Linked DNA regions of Homo sapiens: region 1 is linked to region 2. The links are contacts of gene promoters, found by promoter capture Hi-C in blood cells and fetal thymus (Javierre and others, 2016). All regions are on one chromosome and are shown on one strand. The core of a region is centred on a gene start or on the middle of the fragment in contact, and the rest is flanking DNA. Distances in the headings are between cores, read along the strand shown.

Region 1 (2,700 bases), core at 170-2,669, 2.2 Mb after region 2:
GTAACCAAAACAGCATGGTACTGGTACCAAAACAGACATATAGACCAATGAGAATTTATTTTTAAACAAAAGAAAACAGCCCAGTCTCTGTGGCTCACACCTGTAATCCCAACACTATGGGAGACCAAGGTGCCTGGATGACTTGAGGTCAGGGGTTCAAGACCAGCCTGGCCAACATGGAGAAACCCCATCTCTACTAAAAATACAAAAAATTAGCTGGGCATGCTGATGTACCCCTGTAATCCCAGCTACTTGGGAGGCTGAGGCGGGAGAATCACTTGAACCCGGGAGGTGGAGGTGGCAGTGAGCCAAGATTGTGGCACTGCACTCCAGCCTGGGTGACAGAGCAAGATTCCATCTCAAAAAAAAAAAAAAAGAAAGAAAGAAAAAGAAAAAGAAAAGAAAAGAAACAAAACCCAACCAACAAACTACAGCAACTGGTTGGAGATTATTACTCTATGATAATAAGTTAGTGCTTAAAATTTTCTTCCCTGTTTCCTGGTGGAATCTTTCATGTTAGCATCATATAATCCACACAATGCCTCTTTGAAGCAGGTAATAGTCCCATTTTATAGTTAAGGAAGCTGAAGCTAAATATAGTTACTTGACTTATCTAATTATCCAGCTAATAAGTAGCATATCTGCCACTCTAAATCAGGTATCCTGATTAAATCGATTGTTGTTTGCAGTATTTATTCTTAAACTTGGGTAAACATGAGAATCATCTGGAGAAGCTTGTTACAATGTAGATTCCCAGAGGTGGACTCTGTGTTTTTGGTGAGCCCCCAGATGCAGCCAGCCTCAGGACCTACATTCAGGAATGGCTGTGACAGACTTTCTATGACAGCTTCCCAGAGATCTCCAAGCTGACCACACAATCTCAGTGGTCCACAGTCTTATGCACTGATTTGTCTTGACCAAACTTCAGTCAGTCTTCTCTTCTCCCCACAGATCCCTGAACTTTGGCTTCCCTCCAAGCCTGACCTAGCACTAAAATACACAACATCAGTACTTAATAGCCCATCCTGAGAATGGGCCGATGACAGCAGAAACCTGTCAAACCACCATCTTGCTGTCTGTTTACCTCCACCTAATTGCCCAATTTCCCCTACTAAGTTCCTGCTATCCCTGCTTACCCCATCCCACAAATGTCTTTTTCTGTTTGGTTTTGAGATGTCTGTAGATCCTGAGATTAGGGAGCTTACTATTACAATAGCCTCTTTGAATAAAGTTTCTCCTTACCTAAGTCCAGATTTGTTTTTATTTGACAAAGTCCTCAACCACTGACCAAGCTCAAGTTTCACTGAAGCTTCTTCACAGAGGAAGAGATTTGGCAACACCATTTGGGGTTCTTTTTGTGTCTGCAGCAAGCTGGCTGGGGACTTAGCCCATCAACACCCTTGGGATGGCATCACGGGCCAATACGTATTTAACTATAGCTCACCGTGGACCTTTCTGATCTTAGCTTCAGGACTTTATTCCTGGCATTTGGACATCATGTCTGTGGGGACCCTAAGATGAAAAGCTTTCAATGTCTCCAGTTTTTCTCAGAATTCAAAGAAGGTATTATACAAATGTCTGCTGTGAAATATTTCTTTCCCAAGATGCACCAAGCATCCACATGTCCTTAAGAAATGTTTGGCCCAGTTGCCAAGGCACCTCCTGTCAAAGCAATCTTGAAAACTGACATTTTTCTTCCAAGGAGCTACCTCCCTTGGCTTTTGCAACTATCCAAGGTTGAGACATGCACTTTTCATAAACTATGACTAAGCAAAGTCTAAACAGTCCTGGGCTGCCTCCTTAACTCTCCTTCTCCCAGCGGAACACTTGGCCTTTGCTTTGCAGAGCTCTTGCCAAGAAATCACCCAGGCACTTACGATGCAAATTTCATGGGAAGAGAAGAGCACCAAAGAACAAAAATAAAAGAACTTTCCTCTAAATGTAAAATCCCTTCTCAGAGTTAGAAAGCATTAGGCTGTTCCTAGTCTGGTGCTTAAAATGACTTCATTTCATAATTGTTTCTATTAATAATTATACAATAATGCCCTATAATAAAATTCTATGATAATGACAACTTCAAAAAATCCTTATTCTTTTTTTTTAAATTATGACTATCGGCCAGGCTCGGTGGCTCACCCCTGCAGTCCCAGCACTTTGGGAGGCCGAGGCGGGTGAATCATCTGAGGTTAGGAGTTCAAGACCAGCCTGGTCAACATGGTGAAACCCCGTCTCTACTAAAAATACAAAATTTAGCCAGGCATGGTAGCAGATGCCTGTAATCCCAGGTACTCAGGAGGCTGAGGCAGGAGAATCGCTTGAACCCAGGAGGCAGAGGTTGCAGTGAGCCAAGATTGCGCCATCACACTCCAGCCTGGGGACCAAGAGCAAGACTTCGTCTCCAAAAAAAAAAAAATATATATATATATATATATATATATATATATATATATACACATATATATATATACATATATATACACATATATTACTAACATAGAAAAAGATATGCAGTGCTACCAGCACAATTCTGAAGAAACTCTACAACACGGCTTTCTGAGTAGGTAATGGCTTTTTGTCTTTACTATTCCCGTAGGAGGCTCAAAAGGCTAAAAGAGTTGACCAGTTGGTTAACACAAAGCAGCATGTGTTGACAGGAGGAAAAACCCTTGAGTCACAATACCTGGGTTTAAGTCCCAGCTC
Region 2 (2,707 bases), core at 19-2,518:
ACCAGACAAATCACTGGAAGTTGGGAGAAGTTCCATCAAGAAGGGGGACTTTATCACACAGTTGGAATTCTGACTCAAGTGTCTTGGCTTAGGGTCATTTTGGCTTGGGGTAATATCCCTGGTGTTCAACCTCCTAACTCCAGCCCGGAGTAGAGTCCTAAATCCTAATGGACTGCCCCACCCCCTGAGTTTTGGGAGCCTCTGTCCTGGCCTGTCTTTAAGAGATGTGTGGAAGCCGAGAAACCCAGGAGTTCTCCGGTAAAGGGACGCCCACCCAGGAGTGAGAAGCAGGGTGGTGCAGTGGGAAGGGCCATGGTCCGGTTTCTGCGTCTAGCTTAGCCTGGGTGCAGTCACTGGCACTCCAGATCAAGGGGTTCTCTTCCAGCCAGGTTGACAAGGTCTTGGGCACTCCCAGCCAACACCGTTACCCCCGCGTCCCCACCCTCGTACCTGCAGCACGTTGGGGTGCCGCAGCCGCTCCAGCAGCACCATCTCCTTAAGCAGCTTGTGGGCCGCCAGCCGATAGCAGCCCCTCCGTACCCCGAACTCGCGCACGCAGCTGCCCAGATCGTGGCCGCTAAAGTCCACCGCCTTGAGCGCCACCGCGGCACCGCCGGGCAGGCGGACCCGGTACACGGCCTTGGTGTAGCCTGAGCCCATGTACTGCGCGCCGGACACGTTGCGAAGCGCGGCGCAGCCCAGGCGCGGGCCCGGGCCGGGGGAGCCTGGGCCGGGAGCCGGGGGCCAGCCTGGGGCGCCGTCGGACAGGGGCCGGGCCCAAGGGGGCCGGGGGCGCGGCAGGCCGGGCCCGCCCGGAGCCAGGTCCATCAGGCGCCGCCGCTCCGGCCGGCCCGCCCCGGGCCCGGGGCCCCCGCGGGAATAGCGCTGCACCTCCTCGTAGCGCGCCCGGATCTGCCGGGCCAGCTCCCCGCGGCCCCCGCGACGGCCCGGACCCGGGGCCGGCGAAGGCTCAGGGGACTGGCCTGGCCTCGGAGGCTCCGAGCCCGGAGCGAAGAGCACGTTGAGGACGGAGCCCAGCAGGAAGGAGGCGCAGAAACCCGCGGCCACTGCCGCCCGCCGGCGCCGCATCGCTCCCCTCCCCCCGGCCGGCCGGCCCCGCGCGGCTCCCCGGCCCCGGCCCCGGGCGGCTCAGGCTCCGAGGCGGCTCCGCTCTGCGCCCCGCCGGCCCCCTGCCCAGCCCGCGCGCATGGCCCCGGCGGCCCCGACCCCGGCCCCTCGCGGGCGACACATCGGCCTGACACTTGCCTCCCTGCCGCCCTGCCCCCGCCGCTTATAAGGCCCAGAGCCGCCCCCCGCCCCCGCCCCCGCCCCCTCCCCCGCCCCCTCCCCCGCCCCTCCGCCTCCACCTCCCAGCTCCCGGCCCGAGCCCGTCCTCGGCGCCGCCCCCTCCGGCCGCCCGGCCCGGCCTTCCCCGCTGACTGACAGCGGGACCTCCTCCCGCGGCCGTCCGGGCCTGGGAAGCGGCGCGGAGGCGGCTCCGGTCCTGCCCAGCCCGCGGTCCCGCCCAGCCCGCGGTCCCCCGAGCTCCGTCTGGGAGCGGGGGAGGGGGCGGCGGCGGCCAGGAGGCGCGCGGGGGCTCCGCGCCCAACGCGAGGGCGGATAACGGGGCCGGGGCGGCCGGATAACGGGATTGGGAGGTGGATAACGGAGCCGGCCGGGCGGAGTGGGGGAAAGATAAAGGGGCGAGGCCGGCGGGTAGCGGGCTCCGGAGGGGACGAGCAGCTAAGTCCGGGGTGCGGAGATCCGAGTGATCTCAGCGCTCCCTCCTGGGACTGGGGGCCTCGGGGCGGTTTGGGCGCAGGGAAGGCGCGTGGACCCCGTCTCTCGCGGGTGGGGCCGGGGGTGGCGGCTCCTCGCTCAGCCCCGGATTCCGGATTGGGGCGATGGTGAGGGGGAAGCGGGCACAGCCGGGCCAGCACCTGCGAGCGCGCGTGGGACAGGAGCTCTAGGCATAGAGGAATGCTCGTGAGCTCGCCGAGGATGCCCTGTTCAACTCCTTTTACCAAAGTGTTTCTGATTTTCCTTGCCTCTAAAGCCCCAAATGCAGCTGGGGGTCGCTCCCTACCCCTCAAGATGCCTGGGGTCTGACGGGGTCAGCCGCGTATAAGAAACCATGTGCATGCTAGTAGCTTGGGCAAAGAGTGCGTTTGTGCCCACGGACGGCTGTCTGTGGAGTGTGTGCCTCGGCGTGTCTGAAGGGGCCATTGTGTCCGATGAAGGGAATGTGTACCTTGTGTGTAAGTTGGTGCTGACGCCACCAGAACTTCGGTCCCTCCTCCTCCCTCCCTGATTGCATCATTAGTGCTAATTGAGGGGCTTTCACACGCCAGTGCACTAGCTGTTTGGAGTGAGCTCCCCCCTCCTGGGAGAGATAAGCCGCTGCCCCTCCCCCTCGCAGCTCTCCTCTTCCCCGCCACTCTGAAACTGCCCACCTAGATCCTCTCACCTTCCTGGGCAGCTTCCTGCCTCCCTCTGGGCCAGGTTAATCTCTGTCCTCCTCACAGTGTCAGGGATTGGCTGGGGAGGGGTCAGGGAGGAGAAGGGTCCACAGCCTTTTTTCTGGGGGTGGGGGTGGGTGGGGGGGTATCCAGGGAGGGGAGATTTTCCCTGAAGAGGTCTGGCGTTCCTACAGAATGCAGTGTCTGTGATGAGAAAGGGACAGGAATTTCTGCCCTGTTCCTTTGGA

The links. The method cuts DNA at HindIII sites, captures the fragments that hold promoters and counts their contacts. A CHiCAGO score of 5 or more calls a contact.
Region 1: a fragment that was not itself captured here is called in contact with the fragment with the promoter of PKDCC in region 2 in 1 of 17 cell types (M1 macrophages); the score reaches 5.9 in M1 macrophages.

What each region holds. Positions count from the first base shown.
Region 1 is chr2:39,874,416-39,877,115 of GRCh38, reverse strand. No RefSeq gene overlaps it. Among named protein-coding and RNA genes, the nearest start is that of SLC8A1-AS1, 42 kb to the left of the region's middle. The HindIII fragment of the contact is 216 bases long and covers 1,312-1,527 here.
Region 2 is chr2:42,046,582-42,049,288 of GRCh38, reverse strand. It overlaps PKDCC (protein kinase domain containing, cytoplasmic), which reads right to left and starts at 1,268. Exons shown (of 7, transcript NM_138370.3): 1 at 451-1,268. The coding sequence starts at 1,089. RefSeq lists enhancers at 380-639, 2,140-2,259, 1,883-2,387, 2,388-2,707 and silencers at 680-749, 880-979, 990-1,169, 1,320-1,569, 1,680-1,969. The HindIII fragment of the contact is 13,255 bases long and covers 1-2,707 here.